Regions from separate parts of the Homo sapiens genome. Here all the other regions are linked to region 4. The links are contacts of gene promoters, found by promoter capture Hi-C in human tissues and cell types (Jung and others, 2019). All regions are on one chromosome and are shown on one strand. The core of a region is centred on a gene start or on the middle of the fragment in contact, and the rest is flanking DNA. Distances in the headings are between cores, read along the strand shown.

Region 1 (2,755 bases), core at 193-2,692, 530 kb after region 4:
CCTTTTTATTAAAATGGAATTATAATTATAGTCATAAGTGTAAGGATGTACACTTGACTCTTACTATTTACTTCATTATCACTTCAATTTCCTAGTAAATTTTTTGAATCATATTTTTCCAGCACCATTTCGCTTTACTAGGTAGAAGTTATAAAAACTAATGATGGTGATGATTATAATCTCTATTCTCCATCCTTGAAAGATCAAACATGCCCTAATTAAAGAAATAGGCTGGCATAGTGTCATGATGAAGCCAGTAAACCTCAGGCAAGAGACTTGACTTGTGTGAGCTTCAGGTTCTTCATCTGTAAAATGGGATGAGACCAGCAATGTAGCAGACACCTGTGCTATTCCCATGTCCCTTGGCAATCATGGTTCCAACCCAGCCACCTACACACTTGGCAACTCTTCAGGGCCTTCTATCAGTCCATCCACAGCCAGGCTACAATTCCCAGGGACTGCATGCCTCAGGAGTAGTTGAAGAATAAATACCTTATCTTCCATGCCCCTTGGGTTGCAAAGTTCTGATGTGTGTTCTCTGCTTTCTCCCAGAGTTCCTCGGTGAGACTGAGCCCTAACTGCCCACAGCTGTAACCTGCCTGATACCCTTCTCCTTCTTAGCTGCCTTTCCTTCTTGTCTCACTTCTCTTCTCTACTGTTGTTTCATAGGGTCAACTCCCAAAAAAGGTGCTTGCACTCAAATCCTTGTCTCAGATCCTGTTTTTGGAAGAACCCAAACTAAGACAAGCACTTTTCTATAAATGGCCTTAAGGGAATCAAAAGTGAAAGATGGGTAAGGTCAGAGTTGCTGAGCATTGAGAGAAAAAAAAATGGAAAGAGGCTGTGCCTCATCATTCCTGCCAACCTATCACGTTATTGTCTTCGTTGTTTCCAATCACGAAGCCCTGGCCAGTGGCCTCCAATCATAGATTTCCAGTCTACAAAGGACTTAGCCATTTAGCTTAGTCAAACTGTCAGTTTATTAGAAGAGGCAGTTTGCAGAAATGGCAATGTTGGGACCAAGACCATGTTTTCTTTGTCCCGCTACTCCAGACATCCACCTAGGCACTCCAACAGGACTTGCTTAGAAAAAAGTTGCAACACAGACCATTTAGAAGTTAGTGATCGATGTCTATAGCAGTGGTTTCCAAGCTGGTCCTAGACATAGCACCCTTTGTTTGTTTCTTCTAACAAAGTCTCGTGAGAAAGGCCAATGTGTAGGGAAAAGCTTTAAAGGTGCTGTCTTGGTGGAATAGAGGGGAGCCTGGAGTACAGGTGATGGTGGCTGTTGCCCTATCACTCTTTCTCCTCCTGACCTACCCCATTCTCTGCAGGGATGTCTGCCCAAACCCAGGGATATTCAGGATACTCAGTTTAAAAACCACTCCTCTGAAGGAAATACTGACTAGTTTAAAGATCTGCCTCACAATTAAGGTGGCATCCATTTAAGTCATTTTATATAGATTACCTACAAAGTAGTTGAGGAAACAGAACCGACGTGAATCAACAAAGTCAACACAAATAAGATCAATTTTCTCCCAAAAGACAAAAACAGAGGAAAACTATATGATGTAGCCAATGCTTTCATGCCTTAATTAAGTTACTACACTGAAAAAGCTGCTGAAAAGCTACTCTAGGATTTTATTGATCGAAATCTCATTTAAATTCCTCCTATTGACTCTCTAACCTCTGCGGAAGGTTACAGAAAAATGGCATTGTCGTCCCTGAGTGCATTCCAAGTTCTTCTTAACTTCATGTTTGGTATGTTCATAGACTTCTCTGAAATATTTCAGATTGCCTAAGAATGAAAAAAAAATTTTTCAAGATCGTCATTGTGGATCTATTGTTCATTGGTTGACTTGGCAACTCCCTTTGCTTTCCTTTCCGTTATTACATTTCCTTTATTCCCAGAAGGCAGGGCCTGGGCCTGAGGAAAGGCAAAGGCCTGGCCTAGGAATTCTGTTTCTTTTCTCCTTTATTTCAGTGACCTCAGTGTCTGCTCAGGCCCACAGCTCTGGCCAGAAAGTCACAGCCCTGTCTACTCACAGCTGAAATGTCCTTTGTTCAGAAAATAACCAGACAGGAAAAATATAAACAGTAAAAGGCAAAATCAAATGCCAGTCCACAGGATAGATAAGTGAGCTTGGTAGCCTCATCAACCCCATAGTCTGCTGAGTCTTGTTAAAACTTCTTTCCTTCATCACACCTTTCAGAGGTGCCTTGCCATTTCATGGGAGAGCTATTGGGACAGAGCAGAGAATGGCTTCTTTCCCCCTAGATGTGACCTCCCAGCAGAACACAGCATTGACAATTGTTGGCTAGTATAGCTTTCCCCTTGTCAGCAGGGTCTAGGAGCAGGTTGCAGTGCGTGTGGGGTGGGGTGGAGGGGACTCTGGCTCAGTCAAAACTGCCTGGCAGGTTGTACTGTGTTGGGAGGGAGAGAGGCCACAGGCGTTTGGCTCCTAACTTCGGCATTATCCAGGGTCTTGTCAATAGTCAATGTGATACAACAGATAAGTGGGAGGGAAATAGGTCGAATGCAGAAAAAAAAAAAGCAAACCACAGGGAAACCAGATTAAGTGAGGGATGGACCTTCCACCCTAACCCTTAATAGAAAAGCTGAAAAATGTACCATAGTAGGGAATCCTGCCAGGAAGTGGACAGTGACCAAGGATTTCAAAAATCTCTTATGGAGATTCTGGAAGGTCTGTCTTAACTCTGAATCACTACAGTCTCTAGGATGCCAGCTGTGACA
Region 2 (2,885 bases), core at 253-2,752, 520 kb after region 4:
TCTTTCTACCAAGATGGCTGTAGCCCTCAAGCAGGGTTTGCAACCTCAGATGCTAACTGGAGCCAGGCAGGGAATGTAAATGATGAAACAGGTCAGGAGGAGGAGGAAAAACTAAAGAGCAAACCCTGTCTAAAGGAGACAACAGCTCATCTCCACCATATATCCTGTGGGACTGGTGAGCACCTGACACTAGATTGTCTAATGTCTTTATAGAACCCATAAACCTAAATTAGTATATTAAATTGTCCAGTACTTAAGTTCTATTTTTAAATCAAATTAGTAACGAAAAAAAGTCCATCTCTAGGTCATATCCAGCCAAAAGTCTTTAACTTTTGACTTACAAGCTACTAGAAAGCTTCTGCGAATACACAAATTAAGCCAAGCACAGTGGCTCATGCCTGTAATCCCAGCACTTTGAAAGGCCAAGGCAGAAGGATTGCTTAAGGCCAGGATTTTGAGAGCAGCCTAGGCAACATAGTGAGACTCTATCTTTGCAAAAATTTTTAAAAATTAGCCAGGTGTGGTGGCACATGCCTGTAGTTCTAACTACTAGGGAGGCTGAGGTGGGAGGATCACTTGAGCATGGGAAGTGGAGACTGCAGTAAGCTGGGATCATGCCACTGCACTCCAGCCTGGGCAACAATGTGAGACCCTGTCTCTAAAAAAAAAAAAAGAAAGAAAGAAAGAAAAGAAAAGAAATTAATTTAAAAGTAAACAAATTAAAAATTAAATTTATTAATAATGCAATGTACACCTTGGGGCAATGGGTAGTAGCAGCAAGGGGACAGAATTAATAAGGATGTTTATTTTAGTGCTTAATATTAGAGATTATTTAATGCAATATTTTTTAATTGGGTCAGCACCATAATCCTAAAATACTGATTTTATACTAGACACCTTAATTTTAAAAGCACGCAGTTGATCTTTCAGAAGACAGATGCAAATGCATGGAGGAATGGTTATCTTTTAGTTCTTTAAATATGAATAATAAATAGATTTGACTGAATGGAATATTTTGAGTTGGCATCATCTGTTAGTGCTGTGATCCATGTGCCATTTAAACCTCTCTCCTTTGTTGTGTTCACTTCACAGCATATATCGCTTGTTTTCAGCAGATCGGAAGCGAGTTGAAACTGCTTTAGAGGCTTGTAGTCTTCCATCTTCAAGGGTGAGCATGTGTGTTATGCTATAGTTTGAATGTTCAGCCCCTCCAAAACTCATGTTGAAACTTAATCCCCAATATGACAGTTTTGAGAGGTAGGGCCTTTAAGAGGAAATTAAGAGCTTCCATGATTAATGGGTTAATGAATTAATGGATTATCATCGGAGAGGAACTGGTGGCTTTATAAGAAGAGAAAAACAGACCTGAGCTAGCATGTTCTTCCCCCTCACCATCTGATTCCCTGTGCCACCTCTGCCAAAGTGGAGAGTCCCCACTAGCAAGAAGACTTTTGCCAGATGTGCCCTCTCCACCTTGGACTTCCCAGCCTTTGTAACTGTAGGAAATACATTTTGATTCCTATATATTATACAGTTTCAAGTATTCTGCTATATGCATCAGAAAACAGAGTAAGACTGAAAATTGGTACCAAGAGGTGGGGTTTTTGCTGATAACAAATATCTGAAAATGTAGAAGCAGCTTTGGAACTGGGTAATGAACAGAGGCTGAAAAAAGTTTATAGAGCTAGCTAGAAACAGCCAAGACTTGGTGAGGCCTCTTTTCACTCCTATAACCCCAGTATTTCAATCTAGAATGACCCTTGCTTTTTGTAGATAAAAAAGTCACCTAATCAGGTAATATTTTTAAAATAGTCAAAAAAGGCTAACATTATCAAGATGACAATTTGAAATGTGGTTTCAAACTTATTAACAATAAACCCTTCTTGATGTTTTTTTTAAGATATTAGCTAATGATAGTGTTGAGTTAGGAGGCGAGACTCAACTCTGGTGGTGGGGTATGAACACCGGACCAAATTAAGGACCAGCTAAAACAGGGGGAGCGGAAGCAGCTTTCCATAAGATATGTCCATGTCAGTTTACCATTGCCAGGGCAACACCGAGGAATTACCACCGCTTTCCACGGTAATGATCCAATGACCCAAAAATTGCCACTCCTATCATAGAAATTTCTGTATTAACCACCCCTTAATCTACATGTGATTAAAAGTAAGTATAAATACAACCTCAAAACTGCCTGAGCTGCTACTCTGAGCACACTGCCTATGGAGTAGCCCTGCTCTGCGGGAACAGGCATGGAGCTGTAACACTGCTGCCTCAGTAAAGTTATTTTCTTCTACCCTACCACTGGCTCGTCCTTGAATTCTTTCCTGAGTGAAGCCAAGAACCCTCGCAGGCTAAGCCCTACTTTGGGGCTTTCCAGCCCTGGATCAGTGTGAAGCCGTTATGTTTAGGAAGATATTTGAAATATTAATTTCATCTCACCTTAGCATTTTAAAATGTTTAGTTTTAAGATGTATAAGCTATGTAAGCAATTAGTATGCTGCTATGTGCTTATAAATAAATATATTTACATACTTTACAGAGCTGTGCTCAGAAAGTTTTTACTGAGGGGGTGCAGGATCTAAACAGTTTGGATCTAAACACCTACTTTGCTCATACGGTGGTAAAGTAGGTGAGAGGACAAGCATGTAACATGCTTTCATTTTTATGCCTGACACACACAAGGTACATCATATACATTAACCACCTCAAATAAAATAATTTGCTTTCATTTTGATTCATTTCTACATGACTGGCTCTAAAATGATTTGTTACTATTGTTTCTGGAAGTCCATTGCATAAAATTTTTTTCTCGTGCAGAGCTCTCCTTTCATTATTTTTATCTGAGTATCTAAGCAACAAGGAAGCCTTTACCTAAGGGTAAC
Region 3 (2,727 bases), core at 15-2,514, 550 kb after region 4:
AAGTGCTGGGATTACAGGCCACTTGTACATAATTTTGATTATAAAGTAACATACATTAATAAGAAAAAAAATTGAAAAATTACCCCAAATTCTATTACACAGAGATAAGCACTGATAACATTTTAGTGCCGATCCATAAAGTTAATACCAGTCTTACATTGGAAAACAGGAGGTTGGTGTTTATTTAAATCCTCTGAAAATTTGGTGGGGCTCATGTAACTACATGTTTTCTCTATTGTCTGTGACATTTGGAAATAATTGTAGTGAAACAGAATAATCCTACACTCTTATTTATCCATACTAAAATGTCTTCTACCTTGGACACTACAAGATATTTCTGGAAAAAAAAAAAAAAAGAGGCGACTTGACACCCATAAAAGAATGCATTCACATCCTTTCTAACTTCATTTCCTCCAGGACAAATATCAGTGGATGGGTTCATGCGCTATCTGAGTGGAGAAGAAAACGGAGTCGTTTCACCTGAGAAACTGGATTTGAATGAAGACATGTCTCAGCCCCTTTCTCACTATTTCATTAATTCCTCGCACAACACCTACCTCACAGGTATGAATTTTCTAGTTCTTTGTTACTTTAGCCAGTCTCACCAAATTTCACCAACCTCTACTTTCTGTTGTTCGGAAGCTGAAGTGTGTTTTCTTCCATTTCCTGCGAAGTGCCTCTGAGAACTCTGGGGTTCCACCACTAAAGCCTCCCGCCTCCCATAAGCAGTCATGTCCACATGTGTATGAAGCAATAGCATCATTTCTCCACAGCCTAAGTTTTTAAGTCTTCTAAAATGCAACCACGGCTGACATTTTCAGATCAATGGGATTTTTGTGTAACTGAACTCATTCTTCAGTGTACTTGAAGCCATGTCCAGTCCTACCCGGTTCTCTGGGCTGTGTTCATCTACATGACAGCTCCGAAGTTCTTAAGTGGTGGCTCATGCTTGTAATCCCAGCACTTTGGGACGGCGAGGCGGGCGGATCACCTGAGGTCAGGAGTTCGAGACCAGCCTGTTCAATATGGCGAAACCCCTGTCTCTACTAAAAATACAAAAAAAAAAAAAAAAATCAGCCAGGCGTGGTGGTGCGTGCCTGTAAACCCAGCTACTTGGGAGGCTGAGGCAGGAGAATCACCTGAACCCAAGAGGTGGAGGTTACAGTGAGCCGAGATCACACCACTGCACCCCAACCTGGGTGACAAGAATGAAACTTTGTCTCAAAAGAAAAAAAAAAGAATTAAGTAATTGCTTTTTGTTCAAGGTAGGACAGGGCTTTAGACAAAAACAAATTGACCTGTGAATGACAACTTATACTTTATTGTAAATATTATAATAAAGTAGGATAAAACATCAATGTGTTTCTAATCTGATCTTAAATTAAGCCTTGACCTATTTGGCAGTCTGGTGAAGTGTATGCACCCTTCTCAGAATGCTAAATGCATAAATTAAGTACCTAGAATTAAAGAGGAAATAAATTTCATTGAAATATTTTTATAAAATGTTATGATATATAACCTTGTGTATCTCAGTATTAACACAATTTAAATAAGTATAAGTAAAATGTTGTGATAATTTGCAACAATTGGAATATAATACACAGATCTTGCTAGTGACTTGTAAACTACATACTTAACTGAAGAGAATGTTAAATTTTGTGTAGAGGTTAAAATTAAAACTGTAACCATTCTTTCTCATCCAAGTTCAAGGAGGTTCATGGAATATCACTTTAACAGTCTAGATCTTTGACATGATAAAATTCAAAGAAGTATAATTTTTAAAATCTGAGCACATTATAGAATCTTACATTTATCCTATATTTAGGACCACAAAACTCAAAAATACTTAAATATATGTCCGGTTGAATTTTGGGTATTGTGTGTGATTTTGTTTAAGTGGAAGTCACAATATAGAGTAGATTTTTTACGAATAATCTTTTGAGTCCAAAATACCTTCCAACTGATATATTTATATTCATTACATTCTATTTTATTTGTCATATAATAAATGAGTCAGTAATACCAAAATGATTGAATGACAAGACTGATTGGATATACATTTTATTTTTTCACCTTCTTTCAGAGTATATTAATTTTTCCCTTTCTGACTATCACTAGGGTTTTCAGATTTTATGTATGTTCATTCAATCGCGGCTGCCATTCTCCTTTTGAGAGACCAAATTGTCTCAACTTTGGTTAGTAGGAGACATTTTTAGGCTATCATCTGTGTCCTCTTGACATGACCTATTAATCTTTGAAAGTGTTCTGGCACATAGAGATCTTCCAGACTCACCTTATTCCTTTCTGCTCCAGAGATGGAAACAGACTATTCTCCAGTGAGCCCTGGTTCTTTTTGATGGGAAAGAAAAAGTATGAGTAACAGCAATTTGGACCCTGAACATTGCCTGGACTGTTTCAGTGAACAAAGGAAGAAAAGATAATTTTTTTTTGTCTTTTTAAGGCACGAGTTCACATAAATATTTCTACTTCTACCTACCAATTTAAATTATTATTATTATTATTATTCTTGAGACAGGGCCTCACTCTGTTGCCCAGGCTGGAGCACAGTGGCATGATGATAGCTCACTGTAGTCCCGATCTCCTGGGCTCAAGCAATCCTCCCACCTCAGCCTCCTGAGTAGCTGAAACTACAGGCACGTGCCACCACACCTGGCTAATTTTTTATTTCTTGTAAAGACAAGGTCTCACTATGTTGCCCAGGCTGGA
Region 4 (2,700 bases), core at 175-2,674:
CTATCCCTGGCCACAGGCAAGCTTTCTGTCAACATAGAATATCTTGCCTATTCTGCAATTCCTACACATGGAATCAGGCAGCATACAGTCTATCGTGTCCGGCTTCTTTTACAAAGCTTAAAGTCGCGATTCATCCCTGATCTTGCATGCCCACTCATTTTTATTGTGGAATAGTATTCCAATATTTGGGCATACCACAGTTTGTTTATCCATTCACCTGTTGATTGACATTTGCAGGCTACTAAGAAGAAAGTTCTTCACATCACTTTACAAGTCCCTGCAGACTTGAACGTTTTCATTTCTTTTGGACAAATACTTAGGAGTGGAATTTCTAGGTTGTATGATAAGTAAATATCTTACTTTATAAGAAACTATTCTCCAAAGTGGTTTTACTATTTTATATTCCCTCCAGCAATGAACAAGAGTTCCAAGCTATTTCTCTCTCCGCCCCCCCACCTCCCGCGTGTGTCTCTCTCTCTCTCTCTTTCTCTCTCTCACACTCACTCACTCTCTCTCTCCCTCTCCTCTCTCTCCTTAATAAAAAAAAAAAAAGAGTTCCAGTTGCTCCACATCCTTTCAAGCATTTGGTATTACCAGTCTTTAAAATTTTATCCATTCTGGTCCTCCTCTTTCCCTTCTTCCCTCCCTCCCTCCCTTTCTTTCTTGAATTGAGAAATGTTTGTGGAAGGAGTGAAGACAAACATTCCTGGACCTATGTTCCTAAATGAGCAAGTTTCTATTAATAAGACTCTCCCCCACCCGCCACACATCCTACACACTCAAGGAGAGGAGCGGGAGAGGGCACCCTCTTTCTTCCTCGGAAAATAAAACCTTTGCTTTCTTTAGGATGGGCTTTCTGTCTCGAAAGCACAACGTAACCGTTTGCCCGGGTTTCAAGATCAGCGCGCTGCAAACTCTCAGGCGCGGCCAGGTTTCCTCAAAGAGCCTCTCAACTGCGCTCTTCTCTGCTGATAAATGATAATTCTCTTCAAAAAGCTGGTTTGTGGCTGGCGCTGGAGAGCTCCAGCTAGAGCCAAAAGCCAGGGGTTGCCTCTTTGGTTCCTCCCGATGGGCCCCTTTTCCCAGCCAGTTGGGATCCAAAGACGCTCCGGAGCTCGAGCCCAAATTCCCAAGAAAACCCCAAAGAGCGTAAGGCTCCTGGGGACCCCTAGCACCTCTGCAACCAGGGCACGGGGCATGCTCAGAGCGAATGCGGGAGGCAGGCGTTGGCTGCAATGGGGCTCGGGAGCCAGGAGGTGCCGCTGCGTCCCCGCTTCCTGGCGCCTGACCCAGCGTGCAAAGTTGGGCTGGGAGCCGCGGGGGGAAGGAAGGACCCAGCGAGCGAGGGTGGCGGGGAAGGGGGGCGGGGGGGAGGAGGAGGGAGGAGGGAAAAGAGCGGTTAGGGGGGGCGCCGGGCGTGTGTCACTCGCTCTCTCCCTCTGTGTATAGAGGATGTGCTGAATGGTGCGCTTTGAGGCGGCGGCGGCGGAGGAGCAGAATCCGCCGCGACTGGCAGCCTCGGCTGACCGGCTCGGCTTCTCTTCGCCTTCCGAGGCTCCTCATCCACCGCGGGCTCCAGACCTCGCGTCCCGCCCGGGGCATGGCCGGGCGCTGCGCCCCCGCGCGCTCTGCCTGCTGAGCGGCGCCGGAGGGAGGTGCGGAGGCCGGGAGGCCGGGGAGGCCGGCGGGGAGCAGAGTCGAGCGCCTCCGGAGCAGAGAAAGGAGCCCGCGCCCCGCGCCCCGCGCCCCGCGCACGGTCCCCAGTCCCTGCCGCGCTCGCCCGGGCCGCCCGGAGCCCAGATGAGCCCAGATGGCCGGGGCTCAACCCGGAGTGCACGCCTTGCAACTCAAGCCCGTGTGCGTGTCCGACAGCCTCAAGAAGGGCACCAAATTCGTCAAGTGGGATGATGTAAGTATTGGGGCGGCCCGAGTCGGGGCGCTGGCTCGGGCACCGGGCAGGGCGGGCGTCGTGGGGGTGGGGCAAGGGGCGCGTTATGCAATGGGCGCACTGGGAGCGGGCAGGGGCAGCCTCGGGCGCACAGGTTGGCATCTGCCAAAGCGGATGTCCAAGGGCAGAAGCTTTGCGCGCGCTCCTGTTTCATCGGGCTTCAGTAGTTGCCATCCTTTCTGGGTCTGGCAGGCGCCCCCTGAGGGTCTTACATCTTTTGGGCCAGTGGAGAGGGAGGGGCAAGCTTTGCCTGGTGACAGGTCCTGAGAGTTCGGAAAGTAGGGAGTGTGAAGTTGGGACCAACTGGAAAGCGCCTGGTGTGAACAAATCGCGTCCCTCTCCGCCTGCGGACGCACCCCCTATTACCTCTTTTGCCCGATTTCAAGAAGGAAGGACCTGAAGTTCAAAACACTTTAGTGATTGCGAACCCTCTTGGCGCTTTTGTGGGAGCCAAGGCGGCGGAGGACACAACGGTCCAGCCAACAGGTGGTCGTTGATGCCAAACTTCAGCGCCTGGCTCCGGAGTGAGGGTCCCTGAAAAGGGCTGCGGGGACACATCTGGGGAGGGCGTGAACAGAATGGGGGCCCTTGAGGGGTCCTGGAGGGCTCATGGGCCTGCAGGCAAGTGGGGAGGGCTGACTTTTGAGAACTGAGCTGATTGGAGTCTTCTGCCTGAAATAGACAGGTTGAGAGTTTGCCCCACGATTTACCTGCACCGTTTGCCAGGTAGGGCAGAGCCTAGCCCAGCGCCG

The links. The method cuts DNA at HindIII sites, captures the fragments that hold promoters and counts their contacts. A contact is called where the count stands out against the background at its distance.
Region 1: a fragment that was not itself captured here is called in contact with the fragment with the promoter of PLCB1 in region 4 in 11 of the 25 tissues and cell types used here (H1 embryonic stem cells, IMR-90 fibroblasts, aorta and 8 more).
Region 2: a contact is called between a fragment that was not itself captured here and the fragment with the promoter of PLCB1 in region 4, in 3 of the 25 tissues and cell types used here (H1 embryonic stem cells, dorsolateral prefrontal cortex and heart right ventricle).
Region 3: a contact is called between a fragment that was not itself captured here and the fragment with the promoter of PLCB1 in region 4, in 4 of the 25 tissues and cell types used here (IMR-90 fibroblasts, aorta, lymphoblastoid cells and 1 more).

What each region holds. Positions count from the first base shown.
Region 1 is chr20:8,665,600-8,668,354 of GRCh38, forward strand. All of the region lies in intron 9 of PLCB1 (phospholipase C beta 1), which reads left to right. Among named protein-coding and RNA genes, the nearest start is that of RNU105B, 160 kb to the right of the region's middle. The HindIII fragment of the contact is 3,580 bases long and covers 1-2,755 here.
Region 2 is chr20:8,648,282-8,651,166 of GRCh38, forward strand. It overlaps PLCB1 (phospholipase C beta 1), which reads left to right. Exons shown (of 32, transcript NM_015192.4): 7 at 1,093-1,168. The region is part of intron 1 of LOC105372521 (a long non-coding RNA gene); the gene reads right to left. Among named protein-coding and RNA genes, the nearest start is that of RNU105B, 180 kb to the right of the region's middle. The HindIII fragment of the contact is 8,659 bases long and covers 1-2,885 here.
Region 3 is chr20:8,684,515-8,687,241 of GRCh38, forward strand. PLCB1 (phospholipase C beta 1) reads left to right here. Exons shown (of 32, transcript NM_015192.4): 10 at 418-564. Among named protein-coding and RNA genes, the nearest start is that of RNU105B, 150 kb to the right of the region's middle. The HindIII fragment of the contact is 7,549 bases long and covers 1-2,727 here.
Region 4 is chr20:8,130,842-8,133,541 of GRCh38, forward strand. PLCB1 (phospholipase C beta 1) reads left to right here and starts at 1,425. Exons shown (of 32, transcript NM_015192.4): 1 at 1,425-1,909. The coding sequence starts at 1,811. RefSeq lists a silencer at 1,511-1,650. The HindIII fragment of the contact is 4,653 bases long and covers 1-2,700 here.